Linked DNA regions of Homo sapiens: region 1 is linked to region 2. The links are contacts of gene promoters, found by promoter capture Hi-C in human tissues and cell types (Jung and others, 2019). All regions are on one chromosome and are shown on one strand. The core of a region is centred on a gene start or on the middle of the fragment in contact, and the rest is flanking DNA. Distances in the headings are between cores, read along the strand shown.

Evidence for each region. Contacts are between HindIII fragments. The study calls those that stand out against the background at their distance.
Region 1: a contact is called between a fragment that was not itself captured here and the fragment with the promoter of OR1G1 in region 2, in 10 of the 25 tissues and cell types used here (dorsolateral prefrontal cortex, heart left ventricle, lymphoblastoid cells and 7 more).

The regions. Positions count from the first base shown.
Region 1 is chr17:3,167,248-3,174,100 of GRCh38, forward strand. The region is part of intron 1 of LOC100288728 (a long non-coding RNA gene); the gene reads right to left. Among named protein-coding and RNA genes, the nearest start is that of OR1A2, 27 kb to the right of the region's middle. The HindIII fragment of the contact is 5,977 bases long and covers 2,517-6,853 here.
Region 2 is chr17:3,124,507-3,131,024 of GRCh38, forward strand. It overlaps OR1G1 (olfactory receptor family 1 subfamily G member 1), which reads right to left and starts at 3,045. Exons shown (of 1, transcript NM_003555.1): 1 at 2,104-3,045. The coding sequence starts at 3,045. The coding sequence ends at 2,104. The HindIII fragment of the contact is 6,207 bases long and covers 1-5,243 here.

The sequences.
Region 1 (6,853 bases), core at 4,255-6,754, 45 kb after region 2:
CAAAAAGTTCTAGATGGCATCTTCTCACACTTGTGTTACGGAGATGGTCCCTTCCTTTTCCCTCCTCTCTCTCTCTCTTTCCCTTCCTTCCTCTATTTCTCTCTTTCTCTTTCTGATGGAGTCTTGCTCTGTCACCCAGGCTGGAGTGCAGTGGCACAATCTCGGCTCACTGCAGCCTCTGCCTCCCAGGTTCAAGCGATTCTCATGTCTCAGCCTCCCAAGTAGCTGGGACTACAGGCATCCGCCACCACACCCAGCTAATTTCTGTATTTTTAGTAGAGACAGGGTTTCACCATATCGGAGATGGCTTATTTTCTTAAACCTTATGAATCAACCTCTGCTAGCTTCCAACTTTTCTTGTGTAGCTTCCTCCCCTCTCTCAGTTTTCATAGAATTGAAGAGAGTCAGGGTATTGCTCTGGATTAGGCTTTGGCTAAAGGGAATGTTTTGGCTGGTTTGATCTTATCCAGACCACTCAACCCCTCTCCACGTCAGTAATAAGACGGTTTCACTTCCTTATCTTTCATAAGTTCACTGGGGTAGCACTTTCACTTTCTTCAAGAACCTTTTCTTTGCATTCACAACTTGGCTGTTTGACGCAAGGCTTAGCTTCCAGTCTATCCCTGCTTTAGACACGCCTTCCTCACTAAGCTTAATAATCTCTCGATTTTGGTTTAAAGTGAGAAAGGTGGGTACAGTGGTGCACACCTGTAATCCCAGCTATTTGTGAGGCTGAGGCAAGAGGGTTTCTCAAGCTCAAGAGTTTGAGACCAGCCTGGGCAATATAGTGAGACCCTGTCTCAAAAATAATAATAAAATAAAGTGAAAGGCATGCAACTCTTCCTTCACTTCAACACTTAAAGGCCATTGTAGGGTTATTGACTGACCTAATTTCAATATTGTTGTGTCTCAGGGAATAGAGAGACCCAAGGAGAGGGACAGAGGCAATGGAATTGCTGGTTGGTGGGGCAGTCAGAACACATACAACATTTATCAGTTAAGTTCACCATCTTACATGGGTGCAGTTCGTGGAGCCAAAAACCAATTACAAGGGTAACATCTAAGGTAAATGATCATAAATCACCATAACAGATATAATAACAAAAAAGTTTTAAATATTGAGAGAATTAATTTGACACAGAGACCTGAAGTGAGCACATGTTGTTGGAAAAATGGCACCAATAGACTTGCTCAAGGCAGGGTTGCCATAAACCTTCAATTTGTAAATTTGAAATATCTTCATACAATAAAATGAGGCATACCTGTATATGAACATTTTTCTGGCATTATTCCATCCCCCAGGCTGGAAAAGCAGGTGCCAAGAGGGATCCTGCCAGCAGCAACTTCCCCTCATGAGGGGAAAAGAAGAGTAGGAGATCCTTCAGGACCTCTCTCCACTTTGGACACCTTTCCCCACTGAGGACCTCCACAGTCTTTGCCAATGCTGACTCCACCTGACACAGCCGGGCAGAGCCCAAGCAATTGCACCCCCATCTCTGGAGACAAAGCAGGAACCGCTGCTACATGCCAATATCCCTGATGAACATAGATACAAAATCCCTGAAGAAATACTAGCAAACCCAATTTAATGGCCCATACACCACAATCCAGTGGGATGTATCCCTAGGGTACAAGAATGATTGACAGATGCAAATCAATCAATGTGATACACCACATTAAGAGAACAAAATAAAAATGTGTTAACAGAATGAATTTTAAAATGAAAGAAATAAATGATCACAGAGACACAAGTGTCTCAACAGAAGTAGAAAAAAACATTTAACAAAATTGAACATTCTTTCTTGATAAAAACTCTCAACAAAATAGCTATAGAGGATGCAGAGGAAGATGGCTCAATAGAAACCTACACTGATCATCCTCCTTGTAAGAACACCAAATTTACAACTATCTACACACAAAAACCACCTTCATGAGATCCAAAATCAGGCAAGCAATCACAGCACCTGTTTTGAACTTCGTATTGCTGAAAGAGGCACTGAAAAGTGTAGGAAAGACAGTCTGGAATTACAGACGTCGCCCTTCTCCCATCCCCCAGCAGTGGCTACATGGTGCAGAGAGAGACTGAGTGCTTGGGGGAGAGAGAATGCAGTGAGTGTGGGACTTTGTATTGAAAGTCAGTGCTGCCAACCGTGGGTAAAACTCAGCTAATGTCCATGAAGGGCGCATTTAGACAAACTCTAGCCAGAGGAAAATTGCCCATCCCAGCAGCTGGGTCAGAACCCAAGTTTCAGCAAGGCTCACCACCACAGGCTAAAGTACTCTGGGGTCCTGCAAAAACTTGAAATGCAGTCTAGGCCACAAGGACTGAAACTGCTAGGTGAGTCCTGGTGCTGTGCTGGGCTCAGAGATAGTGGACTTGGAGGGGAGGGCACGTGACCTAGTGAGACACCAGATGGGGCAGCTAAAGGAGTGCTTGTGCCACCCCTCACCAACCCGAGGCAGCATAGCTTGCAGCTTTGAAAGAGGCCCTTCTGCTTGAGAGTGAATAAGAGGACTTTGTCTTGCAACTTGGATACCAGCTCAGCCACAGTGCCCAGGGCACTGGGCAGTTGCAAGGCCCCCATTTCAGGCCCAAATTCCCAGACATTTCTGGACACACCCTGGGCCAGAAGGGAACCTGCTGCCTTGAAGGGAAGAACTCAGTCCTGGCAAGATTTATCACCTGCTGACTAAAGAGCCCTTGGGCCCCAAATAATCAGCAGCAGTAACCAAGTAGTACACACCATCAGCCTTGGGTGAGACTCAGATATTCTGGCTTCAGGTTAGACCCAGTACACTCACAGCTGTACTGTCTATGAAAAGAGATGCCTTCTGGTTAAGAAAAGCAGAGGGAAGCACAAAGGGGACTTTGTCTTGCAGCTTAGGTACCAGCTCAGCCACAGTCGGGTAGAGCACCAAGCAGGCTGTTGGAGTCCTTGATTCCAGTTCTTGGCTCTTGGATGGCATTTCTGGGCATACCCTGGACCCAAAGGGAGCCTTTTGCCCTGAAGGGTGAGTCCCAGGCCTGGCAGCATTCACCATGAGGCTGATTGAAGAGCCCTGGGGCCTTAAGCGAACACCGGCAGTAGCCTGCTGACATAGTTTGGATATTTATCCCTGCCCAAATCTCATGTTGAATTGTAATCTCCAGTGTTGGAGATAGGGCCTGGTGGGAGGTGCTTGGGTCAGGAAGGCAGATTCCTTACGGTTTGGTGCACGCCTCGTGATCATGAGCGAGTTCTTGAGAGATCTAGTTGTTTACGTGTGTAGCACCTCCCATAACAACTGTCTTTCTCTCCCACTTTTGCCATGTGAAGTGTCTGCACCCTTCTGCCAGAGGAAAAGTTCCCTGAGGCCTTCCCGGAAGCAGATGCTGATGTACAGCCTGCAGAACTGTAAGCCTATTAAACCTCTTTTCTTATAAATTACCCAGTCTTGGATATTTCTTTATAGCAATGCAAGAGCAGCCTAACATGGAAAATTGGTATTGAGAAGAGGGGAATTTCTATAAAGATACCTGAAAATGGCTACATCTGAAAATGTGGAAGTGACTTTAGAACTGGGTAATGGGCAGAGGATGGAAGAGTTTGAAGGGCTCAGAAGAAGACAGAAAAATGTGGAAAAGTTTCGAACTTCTTAAAGACTGGCTAAATCGTTGTAACCAAAATACTGATGGTAATATGGACAGTGAAGTCCAGGCTGATGAGGATTCAGATGTAAATGAGGAACTTACTAGAAACTGGAGCAAAGGTCACCCAGTTTATGCCTTAGCAAAGAGCTGGGGTGCATTGTGTTCATGCTCTAGGGATCTGTGGAAGGTCGAACTTGAGAATGATGACTTAAGATATTTGGCAGAAGAAATTTCTAAGCAGCAAAACATTGAAGAAATTGCCTGGCAGCTTCTAACAGCCCACACTCAGATGCAGGAGCAAAGAAATAACTTAAGGTTGGAATTTATATTTAAACAGGAAGCAGAATGTAAAAGTTTGAAAAATGTGGAGCCTGGCTATGTGGCAAAGAAAGAAAGAACTTTTTATGGAGAGGAATTCAAGCAGGCTGTAGAGCAACCACTTGCTAGAGATACTTGCATAACTAAAGGGAAGGCAAGTGCTACTATCCAAGACAATGTGAAAAAGTCCTTGAAAGCATTTCAGAGACCTTCATGGCAGCCCCTCCCATCATGGATCCAGAGGCCTAGGAGGGAAGAATGGTTTCTTGGGCCAGGCTCAGGGTTCTGCTGCCCTGTGTAGCCTTGGGACACTGTTCCCATATCCCAGCCACTCCAGCTCCAGCTGTGATTCAAAGGAGCCCAGGTACAGCTCATGCTGCCACTTTGGAGAATGTAAGCCATAAGTCTTAGTGGCTTCCATGTGGTGTTAAGCTTGCAGGGGCACAGCAAGAGTGAAGGAGGCTTGGCAGCCTTCACCTAGATGCCAGAGGATGTATGGGAAAGCCTGACATCCAGGCAGAAGTCTGCTGCAGAGGCAGAGCCCTCACAGGGCAGTAAGGAGAGGAAATGGGGGATTGGAGGACCCATACAAAGTGTGCCCACTGGGGCACAGCTTAATGGAGCTGTGGAAAAAGGGCCACCACCCTGCAGACCCTAGAATGGTAGATCCACTGGCAGCTTGCACCCTATACCTGGAAAAGCCACAGGTACTCAACTCCAGGCCATGAGAGAAGCCACAGGGGCTGAACCCTGGAAAGCCACAGTGGTAGAGCTGCCCAAAGCCTTGGGAGGCCATTCCTCATATCAGTGTGCCCAGGATGTAGGACACGGAGTCAAAGATTATTTTGGAGCTTTGAGATTTAATGACTGCCCTGCTGGGTTTCAAGCTTGAGTGGAACCTACAGCTCCTTTCTTTTGGCCAATTTCTCCCTTTTGCAATGAGAATGTTTAACCAATGCCTATAGCCCCATTGTATCTTGGAAGTCCATAACTTGTTTTTGATTTTATAAACTCAGGTGGAAGGGATTTGCCTTGTCTTGGATGAGAAATTGAACTTTTGGAACAAGTTAAGACTTTGGGGGACTGTTGAGAAAGCATGATTGTGTTTTGCAATGTGAGAAGTACATGAGATTTGTGGGGGACCAGAAATGGTATTATATAGTTTGGATATTTGTCCTTGCCCAAATCTCATGTTGAATTATAATTTCCAGTGTTGCAGATGGGGCCTGATGGGAGGTGTTTGGGTCATGGGTGGAGATTCTCCATAGCTTGGTGCTTTCTTGTGATAATAAGTGAGTTCTTGCAAAATATGATTAAGTGTGAAGCACGCCCCTTCCCCACCTCTCTCTCTATTGCTCCCATTCTCACCATGTAAAGTGCCTCAAACTTCCACCATGAGTAAAAGCTATCTGAGGCCTCCCCAGAGGCAGATGCCAGTGTTATGCTTCCTGTATAGGCTGCAGAACCATGAGCCAATTAAACCTCTTTTCTTTTAAATTATCCAATCTCAGGTATTTGTTTATAGAAATGCAAGAACAGCCTAATACACCTGTCAGTATTTCTTATGGGCCTGTGGTGGTGGTGGACATGGGGAGAGACTCCTCTGTCTGAGGAAAGGTGGGGGAAGAGTGGGAAGGCCTTTTTCTTGTGGTTTGGGTGTCATCTTCAGATGCAGTAAATTGAGCACCAGGTAGATTTCTAAGGCTTCCAACTATAGGCCCTGGCTCCCAGATGGCATCTCTGGACTCACCCAGGGCCTGGGTGACTTGGCAGTCCAAAGTGAAGAAGACAAGCCTGGTTGTCTTTACCACCTGCTGACTGTAGAGCCCTAGGGCCTTGAGCAAACACAAGTGGTAGCCAAGGAGTGGTAACAGTGGGTCTTGGATGATACCCAGTGCTGTGCTGTCTTCAGGTCTGACCCAGCACAGCCCTAGTGGTGGTGGCCACAGGAGTACTTGTGTTACCCCTCCCCCAGGAAGCTCAGGAAGCTTCCAGGAAGCTCAGCACAGAGAAGGGGAGAGAGAGATTCCATTTGTTTTGGAAAAAGTAAGGGAAGAGATCAAAAGTTTCTGCCTGGTACTCCAGATAATCCTTCTGGACCTTATCCAAGACCACCAAGGAGGTAGGTACCTCTACAAGTTGGCAAAAACCACAGCATTACTGAGCTTGAGGTGCACCCTAATGCAGATATGGCTGCAGTGACAAAAAAAAATGTAGATCACAACACCCAAGTCCCTTCAAATACCTAGAAAGCATTTCCAAGAGGACAGGTACAAACAAGTCCAGACTGGCAAGACTACAATAAATATCTAACCCTTCAATCCTCAGCCACTGAAAAACTTCCACAAGCATCAAGACAATCCAGGAAAACACGGCCTCACCAAATGAACTACATAAGGTAAGAGGAACCACTCCTGGAGAAACAGAGATATGTGAACTTTCAGAGAGAGAATTCAAAATAGTTGTTTTGAGGAAACTCAAAGAAATTCAAGATAACACTGAGAAGGAACTCAGAATACTATCAGATAAATTTAACAAAGAAATTCAAATGGATAAAAAGAATCAAGTAGCAATTCTGAAGCTGAAAAATGCAATTGACCTGCAAAAGAATACAGCAGAGTCTCTTAATAGAAAAAATGATCAAGCAGGAGAAAGAAATAGTAAGCTGGAAGACAGGGTATTTGAAAATACACAAAGGAGGCAAAAAAAAAAAAAGAATAAAAAAGAATGAAGCATACCCACAGGATCTAGAAAATAGTCTCAAAAAGGCAAATCTAAGAGTGATTGGCCTTAAAGAGGAGGTAAAGAGATAATGATAGAAAGTTTATTCAAAGGGATAATAGCAGAGAATATCCTAAACCTAGAGAAAGATATCAATATACAAGAAGGTTGTAGAAAAGCAAG
Region 2 (6,518 bases), core at 1,795-4,294:
CTAATGCATGCGGGGGTTAAAACCTAGATGACAGGTTGATAGGTGCAGCAAACCACCATGGCACGTGTGTACCTATGTAACAAACCTGCACGTCCTGCACTTGTATCCCAGAACTTAAAGCAAAAGCAAAAAAAAAAAAATAATAAAAAAATAAAAAAGAAATGTTCTTCAGCCGTTTAGCCAAGTGGATCCTGTGACCCCCAGGGTGTAAGGCCCAAGGTGGGCTGCCTTATAGGGTCTCTCAGCTGTAGTGTAAGTGGAGTACCTGCATGTGAGACTCATTCCCCCTGTGCAGCTTTTCTGAGCCTTGGGGGACCAGCTCGAGGTGAATCCTAGGCGTCTGTTGTTCCTTGCTGCCTATCTGTGAATAATAAACGTGCTTGATGTCACTTGTTGTCTGTGTGGGTGTTCTGTTTCACTCGACTCGGACAAGTTGGTAACCGGTGCACAGTGAACCTGCTTCAGAGCTTCTACCTCAATGGCTGACACCGATTGAAAATACACTACGTACTAGGAGTTAACCCTGTATGTGTATTTATGCACATTTCATTTAATTATCACAGAGAATGCTTTACATATATTATCATATTTAAACTTACAACACAATGAGGTAGGCTTTTTCTTTTTTTTTTTTTTTTCCAAACATTAAATAATTTCCTAGGATCACACAGCTTAAACGTGGCAAAGCCGGGGTTTGAACTTGATTCCACAGCGTCCACGCTGCTTACCACTTTGCTCTACTACCTTTTATTATCAGACGATCGTGTCTGGGCTTCAGATAAGGTGAATAGGGAGCTGGTGAGCTAGAATTGCTATTATCTACAGCAATTACCATCTATGGCACAGCAGCCTGCAGTCAGATACCTGAAGGTAAACAGACAACAAGAATGAAAAACAGCACCCAGTTGTGACATTTTATTTTCCTATAGAAACGTATTGGTTGTGGCTGTAACGTACTGTACAGAGTCTTGCCACAACGTCTACTGACAAAGCTTTCCAAGTCGTTTTTGGCAACCATGCACAATAATCAATGTATTCTGAAACCGTTGGCCTGAGTTGACCTTGGGAGAAATACGGAAGAGTGTGGTTAACTGTGGACATCAGTTATGAACTGGTGGCACTGGGCTCGCATGCTACGGTAAACAGCTGGAAGTTGATTCTGCAGGCAGTTTCAAGCCACTGGACATTTCTCTTAGTGATATAATGGTACCCTATGAAGATTAATCTGATTATGGTGTACAGAGTTGATGGAAGGCGGGTAGACTGAGGACTGAAGACCAACTAGGAGGAGGCTTTAATCATTCAGGCAGGAGAGCATAAAGTGTCCATAAAAATCATTCTTTTCCCCTAACTTTAAGTTGTAACCATTTCAGTGGGATTCAGCACCTATCAATGGTACCAGGCATTACGCCATGTGGTAAGCATTGGGGCTGCAGAGATGAAATGAGTGTGGAAAAAATTGCCCTGAAGAGGAACCTGAGGTTTTCACATGAAGTCTAAGGTGGCAGGAGGATTATGGGTCTTGGAGGCCTGGTAAGACACTGCAGTGAGTCTGTCTGAAGATGCCATCTCCATCAAGCCCTTCCTAGACCCAGTTCCTCATCACTGAGCATGGGAGCATCACAGATACGGGCAGTGCCTGTGGCAGAAACACTGTGGGTGGGGATCCGAGTGATCAGGATCACAGTGATGCTGGGGGAAGGTCGTCCTTCCCTGAATTTTATTCTTGGCCCTATACAACAGCCCAGCCAGATATTCCCTTATTTCAGTCATGAGCTGTCCCATGTTGTTTAAAAAGCATTAACTAATAACATTATTAAATCATCAATATTATTAACTATAGTAAATATAATAAGGCATGACATTATATTATACATCTGGATGGCTGTGGTTTTAGAACATAATTGTAAGAACTTCACCTGTGACATTGGCCTGATGATGGGTTATGATGCAGTCCTGTAGCTTAGACATGAATATTTCAGGTTCAGATCGTAGGTACTGGAACAGAGGTCTCTAGATTCTCTCCATCTTTCATTCTTCACTGCTTACTGTGGTGAACGCAGGTGCATGGAGACCCCCATATTGGATGTCAAGTCACTACCACTAAGGGGAATGAATTTTCCGAACCCAGATTAACTTTCTCAGGGAAGACTTTATTTCTTGGTTCCTCAAACTGTAGATAAAGGGATTCAACATTGGAGTTACCACTGTGTACATCACTGATGCAACTGTGTCCTTCTGGGCCGAGTGGGTTGAGGGAGAACTGAAATCAACACAAAAAGAAGTCCCAAAGAAGAGAGAGACCACGGAGAGATGAGAGCTGCAGGTGGAAAAGGCTTTCCGCTTCCCCTGAGCTGATGGGATCTTCAGGATGGTCGAGAAAACGTTCGTGTAAGAGATAATCAGGCAAAGCACACAAATGAGTCCTGTGAGACCCCCAGTGATGAAGATCACCAGCTCATTGGTGAAGGGGTCTGTGCAGGACAGACTCAGGAGGGGATTGATGTCACAGAAGAAGTGTGGGATCTCATGGTTTGCGCAGAAGGACAGGCTGTTCATCAGAAGTGTGTGTAGAAGGGAGTGGAGGGCATTCATGATCCAGGATGCAGACACGAGGAAGATGCAGAGCCCAGGGCTCATGATCAGAATGTAATGAAGTGGGTGGCATATGGCCACGTAGCAGTCATAGGCCATGACCGCCAAGAGGAATGCCTCCAGCATCACAAATAACATGAAAAAATACAACTGTAGTAGACACCCTGAGTAGGAGATGGCCTGACTCTGGATCTGTATGTTTGCCAGCATCTTAGGGACTGTGGTGGACACAAAGCAGGCATCTGCAAGGGAGAGGTTGGCTAGAAAGAAGTACATGGGGGTATGGAGTTGAGTGTCAGTAATGATGACTAGAATGATGAGGAGGTTGCCTGCCACCGTGACCAAGTACATGAACAGGAAGGACCCAAAGAGGGGCTTCTGCTCCTCCAGCTGCTCAGAGAACCCCAGGAGGAAACATTCTGAGATGCTGGTCAGATTTTTCCCCTCCATTTGTCTGTAGGAAGAAAGTTGGGTTAATTGGGTGACGTTGGTAAGCCCTGGATTGTGAACTCTGAAAATTATGCAATATTCCAGTGTTGATCTTCTAGTGTGAGGTTGGATCATAGGAAATCTCCACTATTTGACTCTTTGGGACCTGCAAAAATGGCCATTTCATAGGGTTCGACTAAATATTTGCAAATTCCTGTGCTTGGTGCTATGAGAAACCACAGATTTGTTTGTAATGCAATGAGAGGCTTTTAAATTTATTCCATAAGCATTAAGCCAATATGTGTATTTTGGGGCTGGGCTGGAGGGGCTTGCTGGCTTTGCTCTGGTAGTGTTCATGTAGAAACTATGACATTTATACAACCCAAGATTTTACAGGTCAAATGAGCCCATTGTACCAATAATTAAAAAGACAGCTCCTGGAAAGGGGTTTTGGAATTGGGAAAAGCATGGCTAACATGGAAATCATTATCACTGTTATCTACACAGCGGGTCTGGCCAGAAACCTGAGCGTCATTATTGACCCACGTTTCTCCCTCCCTGCCTACATCCAACCACCACCAAAGCCTGGCAATTTTACCTTCTCAATATGGCTACAATTTACTGACGTCTCTCTGTTTACTGGTCACCATCAGTCCCAGCTGCAGCTCATGTCATTCAGGGCACTGTGATTTCTCACTTGGATTTGGGCAGTTGATCTCCATGCCCCCAGGTATGCCCACCTGCCACCTGCTGTTCTAAATACACAGAGAATAGGCTTGCTAAAAATCAAATTCGACTCTTGTCTTTCTGCTTGAAAAATCCTTCATACACTCCTCATTACTCCCAGGATAAACTCTAAACTGAACACGGCTGAATGTCCTGGATCTTACCGTCATTTATTACAGACATCCCCAGTTCCTCATGAAACTCCCTCCTCCACTCCACACTTTATGCACTAATCATAGTTTCAATTATTTTAAAGGCCCAGATACTCCCTCACCTTTAGGCTTTCTCAGGCTGAAATAGTTTTTCCCATCCCATTTATCAGACGAGCTAAGCTTCAGGTCTCACCTTAGATGTCACCTCTTCTGGGAAGTCTTTCCCAACTCATCCTCTCACCAGAAACTCAGGTTCGTGACCTTCCTAATGCAGTGCCTCCCCCATCACAGCACGTGTCACCTTGGATTCTGAGTGTCTGTTTATATGAGTGTCCCTCATTCTGCTGTGAGCATCACTGGGAGTAGGCAGAGATGGTGCCTAATTGGCTCAGCTTTGAAATCTAGCATTAGCCTTGAGGCTGGTACAACACAGATGCTCAGTATGAATCTATCATGTAAATACATAAACCCCAGAGAATGGAAAGAGTGGGAAGAATGGAAAGGGGCTTTGCTATAGAGGTAATATCAGGCATAAGAATTAGCCTGAACCTTTATTATTATTGTTATGATTTTTGAGATGGAGTCTCACTCTGTCACCCAGGCTGGAGTGCAGTAGCACGAACTCAGCTCACTGCAGTCTCCACCTGCTGGGCTCAAGTGATTCCCTTGTCTCAGCCTCCTGAGTAGCTGGGATTACAGGCCACTGCTACCACACCTGGCTATTTTTTTTTTTTTTTTTTTTGTATTTTTAGTAGAGATGGGGTTTCATCACATTGGCCAGGCTGGACTTGAACTCCTGACCTCAGGTGACCCACCTGCCTCGGCCTCCCAAAGTGCTGGGATTACAGGCATGAGCCACCACACCCAGCCAACCTTTTTGTTAGTAGGTTCAGTGGTAGCTTTGAGTTAATGGAGTCCTGGCCATAGGAATATGTAGGGAAACACTACGGTTACAGAGAGATAAGTGTTCCAAACAAATGCATTCTTTCTAGGTGAAATTCTTGGGATGGAACAGTGTTTCAGCTGAGTGATTAACCCACGGAATCAGTTTCCCTGTGCCGCTTTTTTTTACCTTCAGAGTTTAATATAACCTATGGATTTGTAAGCCTTAGTTACGTACACTAAAATTACTACTTACTAGGCAATAGTGGCATCTTATGTCTTATTCTCTCTCTGACCATGGATATTTCTTATTTATTTATTTTTGAGACGGAGTCTCACTCTGTCACCCAGGCTGGAGTGCCGTGGCAGAATCTTGGCTCACTGCAACCTCTGCCTCCTGGGTTCAAGCAATTCTGCTGCTTCAGCCTCCCAAGTAGCTGGGACTACAGGCACACGCCACCACACCCGGCTATTTTTTTTTTTTTTGTATTTTTAGTAAAGATGGGGTTTCTCCTCATTGGCCAGGCTAGTTTCAAACTCCTGACCTCAGGTGATCTGCCCACCTTGGCCTCCCAAAGTGCTGGGATTACAGGCGTGAGTCACCGTGCCTGGCCTGAACATGGCTATGTCTTACCGAACTATCTTCTGCTAGTATGTGGATGCCCCAGGGACTGTGGTATATGTTACTTCTCTCCTCAATACAATTCATCAAAGGAAAAAACAGAAAACCCAGAAGCAGAGCACAGTATTCCTCAGACTTTGCTTTACTAACAGTGGCACTGCCAATCAAAAGGAAGAAGAGATTGAACGAACAATGCTGGGACAAGCTGGTTAAGTCTCTGGAAAATTAATTTAAATTCCAACCTAATAGCACTTACCTGAATAAGTTTCAGATGGTTAAAGCATTTTCCCTGCAGATGTAACTCTAAAGCAACCAGGAGAAAATGCAGCACAATATTTACTCTCAGGACAAGGGTGGACTTTCTAAGTAAAAAACAGTGAAGAAAACAAGAAAGGAAAGGAATAATTGGTTTGATCAAATTAAATTAAAAATACACCATGGAATACTATGCAGCCATAAAAATGATGAGTTCATGTCCTTTGTAGGGACATGGATGAAATTGGAAATCATCATTCTCAGTAAACTATTGCAAGGACAAAAAACCAAACACCGCATGTTCTCACTCATAGATGGGAATTGAACAATGAGAACACATGGACACAGGAAGGGGAACATCACACTCTGGGGACTGTTGTGGGGTGGGGGGAGGGGGGAGGGAATAGCATTGACGAGTTAATGGGTGCAGGACACCAACATGGCACATGTATACATATGTAACAAACCTGCATGTTGTGCACATGTACCCTAAAACTTAAAGTATAATAATAATAATAAAATTCTTTTAAAGAAAAAGATCACATGCAAAGTAAAAAAACAAAGTAGGAAGGTACTTTTTGCATTTATTAAGGAAATAATTAATATTCTTAAAAGTGTTATGTTCCATTAATGAGAAAAGGGTATCTTTCCTTCATTCATAGAAAAACGAAGAATCCCTTGAGCCTTAAGTCACATCCAGCAAGTGGCAGAGCCTGGATGCAGCCTCCACTGTTTAATCCCAAGCTTCTTGTTCTTCTCACCTGCCCACGTGGTCTTCTTTAATCATTTTATCTGCCAGCCGCTGAAATCTCCAAGGTCTCCCCCTTGCGTGTTCTTGGCCAAAATGTGGTCATAGT